Linked DNA regions of Homo sapiens: regions 1 and 3 are each linked to region 2. Evidence: promoter capture Hi-C in human tissues and cell types (Jung and others, 2019). All regions are on one chromosome and are shown on one strand. Each heading gives the region's core, a stretch centred on a gene start or on the middle of the fragment in contact. The rest is flanking DNA. Distances are from core to core; before and after follow the strand shown. Region 1 overlaps LOC124901007 (a long non-coding RNA gene). Region 2 holds the start of HMGCR (3-hydroxy-3-methylglutaryl-CoA reductase). Region 3 overlaps CERT1 (ceramide transporter 1).

Region 1 (4,378 bases), core at 815-3,314, 49 kb after region 2:
CTGCTGCTGAATGACTACTGGGTAAATAACAAAATTAAGGCAGAAAAAATTAATTCTTTGAAACCAATGAGAACAAAGACACTACATACAGAATCTCTGGGACACAGCTAAAGCAGTGTTTAGAGGGAAATTTATACCACTAAATGCCCACATCAGAAAGTGGGAAAGATCTAAAATTGACACCCTAACATCACAATTAAAAGAACTAGAGAAGCAAGAGCAAACAAATTCAAAAGCTAGCAGAAGACAAGAAATAACTAAGAGCAGAGCAGAACTGAAGAAGATAGAGACACAAAAAACGCTTCAAAAAATCAATGAATCCAGGAGCTGGTTTTTGAAAAGATCAACAAAATTGATAGACCACTAGCCAGACTAATAAAGAAGGAAAGAGAGAAGAATCAAACAGACACAATAAAAAATGTTAAAGGGGATATCACCACTGATCCCACAGAAATACAAACTACCATTAAAGAATAATATAAACACTTCTATGCAAATAAAGTAGAAAATCTAGAAGAAATGGATAAATTCCTGGACACATACACCCTCCCAAGACTAAACCAGGAATAAATTGAATCCCTGAATGGACAAATAACAAGTTCTGAAATTGAGGAAGTAATTAATATCCTACCAACCAAAAAAGCCCAGGGCCAGGTGGATTCACAGCCGAATTCTACCAGAGGTACATAGAGGAGCTGGTACCATTCCTTCTGAAACTATTCCAAACAATGGAAAAAGAGGGATTCCTCATAACTCATTTTATGAGGCCAGCATCATCCTGATACAAAAACTTGGCAGAGACACAACAAAAAAAGAAAATTTCAGGTCAATATCCCTGATGAACATCAATGCAAAAATCCTCAATAAAATACTGGCAAATTGATTCCAGCAGCACTTGAAAAAGCTTATCTACCATGACCAAATCAGCTTCATCCCTGGGATGCAAGGCTGGTTCAACATATGCAAATCAATAAACATAATCCATCACATAAACAGAACCAATGACAAAAACCACATGATTGTCTCAATAGATGCAGAAAAGGCCTTTGATAAAATTCAACTCCCCTTTATGATAAAAACTCTCAATAAACTAGGTATTGATGGAACATATCTCAAAATAATAAGAGCTATTTGACAAACCCACAGCCAATATCATACTGAATGGGCAAAAGCTGGAAGCATTCCCTTTGAAAACCAGCACAAGATAAAGATGCCCTCTCTTGCCACTCATATTCAACATAATATTGGGAGTTCTGGCCAGGGCAATCAGGCAAGAGAAAGAAATAAAGAGTTTTCAAGTAGGAAGAGAGGAAGTCAAATTATCTCTGTTTGCAGCTGACATAATTGTATATTTAGAAAACCCCATTGTCTCAGCCCGAAAACTTATTAAGCTGTAAGCAAGTTTGGCAAAGTCTCAGGATACAAAATCCATGTGCAAAAATTACAAGCATTCCTATACACCAATAATAGAGAGCCGAATCATGAGTAAATTTCCATTCACAATTGCTACAAAGAGAATAAAATACCTAGGAATACAACTTACCATGGTTGTAAAGGACCTCTTAAAGGAGAACTACAAATCACTGCTCAAGGAAATAAGAGAGGATATAAACAAATGGAAAAACATTCCATGCTCATGGATAGGAAGAATCAATATCATGAAAGTGGCCATACTGCCCAAAGTAATGTATAGATTCAATGCTATCCCCATCAAACTACCATTGACTTTCTTCACAGATTTACAAAAAACGGCTGGGTGCGGTGGCTCACCCCTGTAATCCCAGCACTTTGGGAGGCCAAGGCGGGCAGATTATGAGGTCAGGGGTTCAAGATCAGTCTGGCCAACATAGTGAAACTGTGTCTCTACTAAAAATACAAAAAAATTAGCCGGATATGGTGGTGTGCACCTGTAATGCCAGCTACTTGGGAGGCTGAGGCAAGAGAATCTCATGAACCTGGGAGGTGGAGGTTGCAGTGAGCTGAGATCATGCCAGCTCACTCCAGCCCGGGTGACAGTGTGAGACTCTGTCTCAAAAAAAAAAAAAGAATTAGAAAAAACTACTTTAAATTTCATATGGAACCAAAAAAGAGCACGCATAGCCAAGACAATCCTAAGCCAAAAGAACAAAGCTGGAGGCATCACGCTGCCTGACTTCAAACTATACTACAAGGCTACAGTAACCAAAACAGCATGGTACTGGTACCAAAACAGATATATAGACCAATGGAACAGAACAGAGGCCTCAGAAATAATGCCACACATGTACAACCATCTGATCTTTGACAAACCTGAGAAAAACAAGCAATGGGGAAAGGATTCCCTGTTTAATAAGTGGTGTTGGGAAAACTGGCTAGCCATATGCAGAAAACTGAAACTGGACCCCTTCCTTACACCTTATACAAAAATTAACTCAAGATGGATTAAAGACTTAAATGTAAGACCTAAAAACCATAAAAACCCTAGAAGAAAACCTAGGCAATACCATTCAGGACACAGGCATGGGCAAAGACTTCATGACTACAACACCAAAAGCAATTGCAACAAAAGCCAAAATTGACAAATGGAATCTGATTAAAGTAAAGAGCTTCTGCACAGCAAAAGCGGATCACCAGGTCAGGCGCTCCAGGTCAGGCAGGTGGATCACCAGGTCAGGGTGGATCTCCAGGTCAGGACGGCGGATCACCAGGTCAGGAGCTCAAGACCATCCTAGCTAACAAAATGAAACCCCGTCTCTACTAAAAATACCAAAAATTAGCTGGGTGTGGTGGCATGCACCTGTAGTTCCAGCCACTTGGGAGGCTGAGGCAGGAGAATCACTTGAACCCGGGAGATGGAGATTGCAGTGAGCTGAGATCGCGCCATTGCACTACAACCTAGGCAACAAGAGAGAGACTCTGTCTCAACAACAACAACAAAAAAAGTCCAGTCAACTGAGAAAGAAAAACTTTTGCTTAAAAAAAAAAAAAAAAAAAAAAAAAAAAAAAAAAAGATGAGGTCCTAGGAGAAAAACAAAAACAAAACATGAAGGCCTTTTAAATACAAACACACAAATATGTGCACACACACACACACACACCTTGGATGTTTGCTTTTAATTAAGCTTTTAACCATTGAGCTCCTTCGAAAAGATGTTTTTTAATCTCATTACCATATTTCAGCTAGAACAAATTGCTGCTATGTCAGATGTACAGCCATTGCTCTTCAGTTTGGCCTGGCTAGCAAACAGATGGCCTTGTTATGTAAATAAAGCCCCTTAGCAGTCAAAATAAAAATTTTTTTCCTCTCTTTTTATCCTTTTGCTGGCCATTTTTCTACTCCCACCACACTATCCTTTTTTGTGTGTGTTTGGGAATTTAGCCACCTCAGAGGCCTCTTTCCTCATAATTTGGAACTTCCTTTGGGTTTGATCTGGTTGGATAGAGTTGATCAAACCCAATGGGAAAAAGACCGAAACAACAACAGAAACAGAAACAAACAACAATAAGAAAAAATGTTAAGCAAAACAAATGATTGCACAACTTACATGATTACTGAGTGTTCTAATGGTAAGGAGAAATTAAGACCAGCTGGTTGTTAATCTTAGCTTTATCCAAGACAAACCTCAATTCGGTTACTTACCGAGGGATGGATTTCAGGCTGAAGACTCTCTCTACCATCCTAGAAGCAGGAAAAACAAACAAACAAACAAACAAAAAAACCAAAAGAAAACCTCATCTCCCCTTTGGAAGTGAGCTCAAACTTCATAAAGGAGTTACCTGCCTTCCATGACCATGGAAGAGAAAAAAAAAAAAGAATTGTACAGCAAAATAAACTTTAGATTTCAACCAAATTTTGGGAGATCAGGAATTCTCTGGAGCAGGTGCTCTCAGACCTCAGCAAATTATCCTATTGGTTTGAGCCATAAAGTTAGCTCATGTTGGTACCAAGCACCAGTAGGGGATTTGTCAATAGTCAGGGGAACCTCCACTCAGAATCCCTTCATGGTTACCAAAATGCAAACTCTAAAAAGTCAAGACAAGTCTCAGTTAATTTAGAAAGTTAATTTTGCCGAGGTTGATGACGTGCCCATGACACAGCCTCAGGAGGTCCTGACAACATGCGCCCAAACTGGTCAGAGCATAGTCTGGTTTTATACATTTTAGGGACACATGAGACATCAATCAACATATATGAGATGAACATTGGTTCGGTCTGGAAAGGCAGGACAACTGAAAGCTGGAAGGGGGCTACCAGGTCATAGGTAGATAAGAGACAAATGTTTGCATTCTTTTGAGTTTCTAATTAGCCTCTCCAAAGGAGGCAATCAGATATGCTTTTTTTTTTGAGACGGAGTCTGGAGGCTGGGTGCAGTGGAGCGATCTTGGCTCACTGCAAGCT
Region 2 (4,760 bases), core at 771-3,270:
AGTATGCTGCAAACTTTTACAGATTCTTTAAAAGAATGGATAATTCTTAAATGTCAATCCAATCTGCTACAGAAGCCACCTACCATGGCCAACTGCAGAAAAGGATGTTTTGGCATCTTACTTCCTCCTACTCAGCACTCCGCCTGCATTACACATTCCAGTATTTGATTATATACTATCTCACAGTGTTCTCAAATTAATAAATGTGTACATTTTGTCTCTTTGAAGCCAAGAACTGCGTCTTATATGGCAGTCATTTTCAATCCCAACAAGATCTAGCATTCTGCTGCTCAAGCTGGTATTCCAGAAAGAAGGAAAAAAAAAAAAAAAAAAACGAATCTTGCACTGGCAATCAGGAAATCTGGATTCTATACCCAATTAGCTCACATTCTATTACATGTTGTTTTTTAAGTCATATCTATTCTCTTCATTCACTTATGAAGCTAGAGCTCCAAAGTTCTCTGACAAAGATAAGTGTTAAATGGAATCATATGAAACTGCTATTTTTGTAGGTTAGTTGAATTTTAAATACTGGCAATTTCACATGGGTCAACCTAAGTAGACCATGTAATTCCATAATGTGGCTATCTATAGTCTAGAAACTAGACCATAAAGGAATACAAAGAGTGTGTGCATGCACGCATACTCACACTCTTATCTTGAAATGGTTATCCCACATACCCGACAATTTTCATGTTAATGCTGTAACCTATGTGCAATTTTGTTTAACCTTCATGTTACTAATTCCCATTTGTTTTGGCCACCAAGTTTATCATAAGTTCTGGAAGAACACTACAACAAAGCAGGCCTGCAAAATCCAGCCTATCCCCAAAGTACTGTCCAGGTCTTTGCTAGATTATCTCTAAATTGCAAAATGCCTTTCACTGCATGGAGAGGAAAATAAATTCATAAGTAAACAAAAAGTACATTCTCTACCTTGTGGGACGCCGAAATCATGCACATTTAGTATAGCCCAGAAACAAATGCTTCCTACGACTCTGCAGGACCATGTCTAAGAAGGAATATCCTCAAATCCTGAAATATTTCAAACGACTACTTAAGAATGGAGTACATCGACCTCCTCCTACTGCAGAAATTAACTGTTCTATATTTGTATCTCCAAGGTACATTTTTCCTAAAAGAATATCAGCACCAAGGAGACTACACCCCTTACCAAAAAAAAAAAAAAAAAAAGAGGGAGAAGAATCTTTTGAGTCATTGTGCGAATCCCCACGTTGGGCTCCGCATCCTCTCAAGCCGTTCTCCTGTAAATAACCAGACACATCTACACCAATCCACGGTTCTTTCATGGTTCTAAGTTAGTCAGCAGTATTTACAGAGATCTTTCCCGTCACCTAAAAGAAAGGTGCTAACGAACAGCAGTTCCTGGGCGTGAATGCCCGGATCCCGGGATGCAGGCGCTTCTCCCGTCTGCCCTGCGAGCTGCCGGCCCGACAGCCCCATAGACCCCTAGCATTTCTCGAATCCAGGGGCCTCCGAGGTCACCCTGCCTGACACCCTTTCCGCCCCGATTTTCGTGACCGTGCAGCCAGCACTGCCTACTCTGACTGAACAGGGACGATGAACGCAGCTACGCCCCGCGGGTCCACCGATGATGACCGCAGTCACGAAGAGGCCAGACCGCCGCCCGCCTCTCAAGCCCACCCCGGGACCCCGGGTTACTCCGGCACTGATGCCGGCCGCCGCTCGGCCTGCCGGGCCTCAAGGACATTCCTTGCAGTCCCCGCGGGTCCGAGCTGCCACACCGACAAAGCGCAACCGCAGCCCCCTCCAGGTCCGCAGGAGCTGCCGGTAGCCACTTCCCAGGGCCGAGGGAAGCTCCAGAATTGCCACCAACACAGCCCAAACCCCGCTCCCACCCATCTCCGCCCCGCTCCCCGCCGCCCCTGCCCCTCTTCTCGGTCACCGCCCGCCTCACCTCCAGATCTCACTAGAGGCCACCGAACCCCGGCGCCGACGCTCAGCCTGGCTCCAGTTAACGCAGTCGCGGAGCGGAAGGAGCCCTCACCTTACGCACGCTCGGAGCTGGACGAGCCTTCGACCAATAAGAGAGGATCGTTCGATTGTCTAGCCAATCGCCTGGGGGCTGCTCGGCCTGACGGCGCTACGTCACGAACGGTCGCCTTAACAACCGCCCACAGCTCTCTGCAGGGCCAAGAACAGGCACCGCACCATCTCTCACCACGGCTCGGCCAACCAATAGCCGTTCGAGTCCCAGCACTAGGGCCTGCCTATTGGTCCTAGAGCTGTGGGGGCGCACGCATGGCAGCTGCCTAGGCGGAGGCGATAGGGGACCAGGCGGGTGGAGTGTCCCACAGCCTCAGTGCCTGACCCGTGCTCGTCCTGGCTGTGATAGTACAGTAGGAGGCAGTGATAGGAAGCAGAATCGGAGCGTGAGGGAAAACGCAGGGTCAGGTCGATGACTGAAAGCTCAGTTACTAGCGCGGGAGAGATGGAGGGAAGCGGAGGCGGCCATGAGAAAAAGAGGAATATAAAAAAAGGGAAGGTGGCGGCGACGGGCACCTCAAACCTGTAACTGGCCGGTAGCCGAAACCAGCGCTTTCCCGAGATTTACCCATTAGTGTAAATGGCTCCGGTCACCTGCGTCTCTCTCTCTTGTGTGCGACATCCATTGCATACTGGATTCTCTCTGAAATGTGCCTCTCCTGCGTCTTCTGTGCGTTCCTTCTGCTCTCCGCCTGGTGCAGGGCTTTATTATGTCTTACTTAAAACAGTGCAATAGCCTCTCCTAACTGGTCTTCCCAGTCTTACACGCATGCACTTCCCAATCTGTCCTGCAGAACTCCCACATGCAGTATGTGGCATACTACTTCCTATTATGCCATAGACCCAAATCAGCGTTTCTCATTGTCTACTGGATTAAAGAAAGAACCTGTCACCACTAATATGGCCCCACCACACATTTCTGACGTATCTCTACTTTCCTGTGCGAACCTTACAGTTCAGCCAGGAGTAACTGGCCCTTCTTCAGTCACACTCAGTACCTTTTTACCTCCCTGCTTATGTTCTCTTTGTTTACCTTGGATATGCCTACCCATTTTAACTGCTGAGATCCTAAATATCCCTTAAGGACTTTTTCATATGCCACCTCCTTTCCTAATTCCCTCAAACACATCATCACTCCCGACCTTGAAAACCCATAAAATTTCCGTAGTATTTTTTTATTTGTCTTACTATCGTATGTGGAAATTTATTAAGGACAGGAATTGTATTTCACTCAATTTTTAAAGCCCATATTTTGAAACACATTACGAAGAAAACACTAAACACTCCTTAGTTTTAATAAATGATTATAGATTCTTATAATCCTTATATAATAGGTATTATTCCCATTTTACAAAAAAGTAAAAATTAAAGTTTGTCAAGCAACTTGCTGTAGATCACATAGATAATGAGCAAAACTGGAATTTGAACCCAGATCTAATGCTTAGGCTGGTTCTACTGTTCCCCACTGCTTCAGTGTAAGACCTTCATTCATATCTCTTTACCAAATGTTGCCTTTGAAATGCTCATTATGTGAAGTACACACTGTGGTTGGCATGGGAGATATAGTGACAAACATGACAGACATAGTGCCTGCCTTTATGAACCTTGCACAGTAAAGAAAACGGGTGAACTACCCAAAGATTGCAGTGTTCTCTTAGCAGCCTTGTCAAAAAAAAAAAAAAAAAAGAGAGAAAAGTGTGTAAGTACCGAGAGCCTAGAACCTGTCATATTTTTAATGCCGCTAGAAGTCTCAAGGACCAAATATCTCAGAAGTTACAGGTTGTACACATGCCTACTAATGTAATTCAAATAAGGACTAAAGTTGTTACCAAAACAGGCTTTAGCCCAAGATTTAGAAATTTTCATTCGCAAACTGCCTAATTGGGAACTCCAATAGGAATATGAGTTCCAAAGCAAGCAATAAAGAAACACCAGTTGTCTAGTTTTATGCTCTTAAAATAAATTCTATATCCTTCCCAAAAGGTATTTCAAAAGAATCTTTATAGCACTTAACTAATAATTTGTACTTAGTGATAAATCACAAAATTTGGTATGGACACAAGGTAGAAAGGGAGGGTGGGGGAAGCGCCAAGGAAGTCCATGTGCCGCTTCCTCATATGCATTTAACCCTTCAAGGAAAGAGTTTATAAAAGTATAATTTTTTTATTTTTAGAGACAGAGCCCAGGCGGGCGTGCAGTAATGGGTCCGGAATTGGAGGGTTCTTGGTCTCACTGACTTCAAGAATGAAGCCGTGGACTCTCGCGGTGAGTGTTAACAGCTCTTAAGGTGGCGCGTCTGGAGTCTGTCCCTTGTGATGTTCAGATGTGTTCGGAGTTTCTTTCTTCTGGTGGGTTCGTGGTCTCGCTGGCTCAGGAGTGAAGCTGCAGACCTTCGCGGTGAGTGTTATAGCTCTTAAGGCAGCGCGTCCGGAGTTTTTCGTTCCTCCCAGTGGGCTCTTAGTCTTGCTGGGCTCAGGAGTGAAGCTGCAGACCTTCGTGGTGAGTGTTACAGCTCATAAAAGCAGCGTGGACCCAAAGAGTGAGCAGTAGCAAGATTTATTGCAAAGAGCAAAAAAACCAAGCTTCCACAGTGTGGAAGGGAACCCGAGCTGGTTGCCAATGCTGGCTCAGGCAGCCTGCTTTTATTCTCTTATCTGGCCCCACCCACATCCTGCTGATTGGTAGAGCCGAGTGGCCTGTTTTGTCAGGGCACTGATTGGTGCGTTTACAAT
Region 3 (4,752 bases), core at 626-3,125, 40 kb before region 2:
CAGCCTTCCCAGTAGCTGGGAGTCCCCACAGGCATGTGCCACCATGCTCAGCTAATTTTTTATTTTTTGTAGAGATAGGGGTCTTGCTATGTTACCCAAGCTGGTCTTGAACTCCTGGCCTCAGACAATCCTCCTGCCTCAGCCTCCCAAAGTGCTGGGATTACAGACATGAGCCACCGTGCCTGGCCTTGAAAATTGTAGTTTATAGCCTTTAAAACTTAATTCTTTTATTGTTTCCTTTTTCTTCTAATGCTTATGTAAAGAAATTTTGATATTATAGAACTGTAGAATTGTAGAAGTGCAAACTTCCTGTATTCTTTCCTTTCCCAGAAACTGTTATTTTTGTTGTATATTCCTCCAGATTTTTCTGTGTATGTACTGACATATTTTTGAATGTTAAAATGTTTATACTTACTATTATACAAAATTCTTGTTTTATAACCTTTTTTTCACTTAACAATGTATCTTGACTATCTTTCTTTATAAGACATGAGATGTGTAAAACATCTCATTCTTTTAACATCTGTTACATGCATGTTGCAGAATTTATTAACTAGTCCCATGTTAATGTCTGAGTTGGTTCCATATTTTTACTGTCAACCAGTACAGCACTGAACACCTTTATGCAAAGAGGTAGAATCTTTAACTTTATTTTGGTGTTGTTGAGACAAAGTTTCTCTCTTGCTGCCCAGGCTGGAGTGCAGTGGTGCAATCTTGGCTCACTGCAACCTCTGCCTCCCAGGTTCAAGCGATTCTCCTGCCTCAGCCTCCCGAGTAGCTGGGATTACAGGCGTCCATCACCACGCCCAGCCTATTTTTGTATTTTTAGTAGAGGCAGGGTTTCACCATGTTGGCCAGGCTGGTCTCGAACTCCTTACCTCAGGTGACCTGCTCTCCTGGGCCTCCCAAAATGCTGGGTTTACAGGCGTGAGCCACTGCACTCAGCCCAAAATCTTTAACTTTTTAAAGTAAGTGATACGTTAACATGATTAAAAGCCAAAAGTGGCCAGGTGCAGTGGGTCACACCTGTAATCCCAACACTTTTTGGGAGACTGAGGTGGGAGAATGGCTTGAGGCCAGGAGTTCAAGTCTAGCCTGGATAACATAGCAAGATTCCATCTTGACAAAAAACAATTAGGCGTGGTGGTATACATGTATAGTCCTAGGTACTTGGGAGGCTGAAGCAGGAAGATCGCTTTGTCTGGGAGTTTGAGGCTGCAGTGAGCTGTGATTACACGACTGCACTCCAGCCTGGACAGGTAATGTCTGTCAAAAAATAAATAAATAAAGTCAAAAGTATGAAAAAGTTATACAGTAAAATTTACCCTGTCTTGCATTCACCATATAGTATTAACATATGCTATTACTAGTTTCTTCTAGAAAGTTTTTAATGCTTGAATGAACAAATACAAGTGTATTTTCTACACAGATACACTTTTTTTGTTGTTAAAGAAGCAGCAGCATACTATAAACACTGTTCAACATCTTATATTTGCATTTATTTTATCTTGAAGGTCTCACATATTTGTAAGGAGCTTCCTCATTTTGATGGTTATACAGTATCCCATTGTATAGATGTACATAATTTATTTAATCAGTTCTGCATTGGCGAATATTACAGTTTCCAATTTCTGCCAGAGCAGTGTCATAATTGTATCCATATGTCATTTTGTACTTGCAAGTTTATATGTGGGAAAATTAATAGATGTGGTACTACTGGCCCTGCTAGGGGTTTGTGCATAATTTAGATACTACTTTTCATAGAGGTTATAGTAATTGACCATCTCAACAGCAATAATGAATTGGAGTCCCTGTGTCCCACAGTTTTTCATACAACGTGTAAAACAAAACTTTATAACTTTCCCAACTCATTAGGTGAAAAATACTCTCTCAGTGTAGTTTTAATTGTATTCCTCTTCTTATGACTGAGTTTAAGCCTGCTTTAGTCCATTGAGAATCTTTTGTATAGTACTATTTCTATAAATTCTATTTTGTAATAACATTTAAAATATTAGTAGATATTGCCAATTGTGATACACAAATGGTAAGCAATAACATGAATATTCTCTCATTCTCACCTACACTGGATGTTAAATAATTGACTGAGAAATGTATATTCTTGAGTCCTTTTCTTTAGCTAAAAATAATAGTCAATTATATAATGAAATAATTTTAAACAAGTCTGATTTCTAATGATGTTTATAGTATGTCTTTCTTTTAAAAAATGCAAAAGCTAAATTTATTGTCCGATACTAACTAATATCCCATACTAACATAAGGGATATTGCATTGATGTCTCAGTTGTTTAGCTTTATCCCAGGAAAAAGGGTATTTGAAAATATTAAATAGGTTCCAGTCTTAGTTACCTGAATGATTGGTGTTTTGGAATATAGCCTTACCCTTTAGGGATTCTCTCTTCAAGCACAAGTGCACTGCATTCAGTGTGCTGACAATTTTTATATCTTGTACTTTAGAATTGTTATAGCTAGATCTGGACACATTACTTCTTATCGATTCTGAGTCTGTGCCATATTTATCAAATAAACCAGAAAACTGATGGCACGTGACAGCAACAGGCTTATCACCCTGCTTCGCTGTGTGTCTCTTTGCCATGGCCTCTAGGGTTTTTAAAGTGGTGCTGTTTCACTCTATCCAAGACCAGATTTTGTTTCACTCTAACTATATCTGCCTTCTCTCTTCTTCACTATGACCTCACTGAAACGGCCTCCCTCTTGATGCTTTATGATGACTTCCTTACCAAAGGTTCTCAGATATTCAACCAAGCAAGGCAGAAATACAACTTTGTATTAAAGCAAGAGAAATCTGAATGCAGTTGTGTGTAAAACATGCTCTCAATTATATTTGAGAAGAATAATTTTTTAAACAGTTGAAAGATAAATGGTAGGATATTAGCAGCATTTGCTTCTAGACTTGGATTTAGAGCGGTGTTTCATTGACTCTCTGTGTGTGTGCATGTGTATGTTCACAGATTTTTCATTTGTGGACCTGGGAGGGAGGAGCTTGGAATCTGAAAAAATTCATCTCTGGGGAAGAGAGGTCTATTGTTTGTGGGTACATGTATATGTGTGCAAAGATACAGCTGAAAAGATTCATTGGCCCAAACTCAGATTTGGCTTTTTGAGTCCAGATTGAGCTTCTTTCTAACAAAGATCCAAATTCAAACCTTAACATGGTAAAATCTTTGTTACTGTAACGTAACTTTTTTTTTTTTTTTACAATAATTATGGAAGATAAATGTATGAAGTCGAACCCAGCATTGAAACCCTAGGAAAGCGAACATTCTTAATTTTGGTGATGGAAAAAAATAGTAACATTCAATAATGTGTGTATCATCTTTAGAGAAAGTTCTGTAAAGAGTTAATAAGATCCAAAGTTGTTTAACAGTAAAAACTTTATATATATATTATATATAATATATATTTTTATTTATTTTATTTATTTATTTATTTATTTATTTATTTATTTATTTATTTATTTATTTTGAGACAGCATCTCACTCCTGTCGCCCAGGTTGGAGTACACTGGAGCGATCTCAGCTCACTGCAGCCTCAACTTCTCAAGCTCAGGTGTTCCTCCTACCTCCCTGGGTAGCTGGGACTATAGGCACACACCACCATGCCCGGCTAATTTTTTATACTTTTAGTAGAGTTGGGGTTTCACCATGTTTCCCAAGCTGGTCTCAAACTCCTGAGTTCAAGCAATCCGCCTGCCTCAACCTCCCAAAGTGCTGGGATTACAGGTGCGAGCCACCTAGCCCCGCCAGTAAAAACTTTTAAACTCATTTGACAAAGAGGTCTGAGCATGTTTGTTGATTAAATAAGGCAGGCCTCTCTCTCATAGCTTGAATACATTTTTTAAATTCTTGGTAAGTAGTATTGTATGTCATAATTTTTATTGCAGGCTAAGAGGAAAGAAATGCCATGTTGTGGAGTAAAAATCCAGAGACCTTTCACTGATTACCTCTGCTCACCTATATTGCCCTTTTTTTTTCAGGTGCCTGTGCCCCCTTTATTTTACACAACTATGCAAATTGTGAGGCCAAGGATGTGACTGCAAACAATTAAGATTTGATTTACATGAATAAGCTTTCTTCTCCATGAAAATACACTGTGTCACTTCACACTTGGTCTAACACACACACAAAATTCTCACCCTAGGTGGCACAGATACACTCAGCATGCAATATTAAGTACAATTTCCATTTTATTTTTCTCCAGAGAATAGTCCATCTTCAGTCTTTAAGGACTCAGCTCCTTACATGGGCTTTGGTGGGGGTCATGGGGCAGCACCCGCAGGTCTAAATTGGGGTGGAGGTGTTCGATCCTTCTCCTTCATGAGATCGATTCCTGACTACTTTGTTGTGAGTTGCACAACTCACACAGTAATATAGCTTCACATAACAGCTTGGGAAGCACATAGACATCAAAGACACTCGCTTCGGAAATGTCCCTGACTGCTGCGACCTTCACTGTGTTTCAAATGACGAATTTCTTAATGGCCTTGTCCTTGGGCACGCATCAGGCACGGTTCGTGCAGCAAACAGGCTGCACGTGGCTGTGGCCCTTTTTGGCACAACCATTGTTCCTTCTTTTCTTTGTCATCTTGGAGGCCTGGACTGTAGAGAGGACTGTTCCCGTTTTTTTTTCTAACTTTTGAAAAATTCCATATACCTTTGATTCCTTGCTGATGGAATAAGTTCAAATTTGTAAGGTTAATAATTTTGCATTCATA

What was found. Contacts are between HindIII fragments. The study calls those that stand out against the background at their distance.
Region 1: a fragment that was not itself captured here is called in contact with the fragment with the promoter of HMGCR in region 2 in 1 of the 25 tissues and cell types used here (adrenal gland).
Region 3: a contact is called between a fragment that was not itself captured here and the fragment with the promoter of HMGCR in region 2, in 1 of the 25 tissues and cell types used here (hippocampus).

The regions. Positions count from the first base shown.
Region 1 is chr5:75,285,544-75,289,921 of GRCh38, reverse strand. All of the region lies in intron 1 of LOC124901007 (a long non-coding RNA gene), which reads left to right. Among named protein-coding and RNA genes, the nearest start is that of HMGCR, 49 kb to the left of the region's middle. The HindIII fragment of the contact is 4,212 bases long and covers 1-4,170 here.
Region 2 is chr5:75,334,480-75,339,239 of GRCh38, reverse strand. It overlaps HMGCR (3-hydroxy-3-methylglutaryl-CoA reductase), which reads right to left and starts at 2,020. Exons shown (of 20, transcript NM_000859.3): 1 at 1,940-2,020. RefSeq lists enhancers at 990-1,548, 1,549-2,109 and a silencer at 1,789-1,908. The HindIII fragment of the contact is 13,606 bases long and covers 1-4,760 here.
Region 3 is chr5:75,374,333-75,379,084 of GRCh38, reverse strand. CERT1 (ceramide transporter 1) reads left to right here. Exons shown (of 17, transcript NM_001379029.1): 17 at 1-1,310. It also overlaps the pseudogene RPS26P26. Among named protein-coding and RNA genes, the nearest start is that of HMGCR, 39 kb to the right of the region's middle. The HindIII fragment of the contact is 9,528 bases long and covers 1-4,752 here.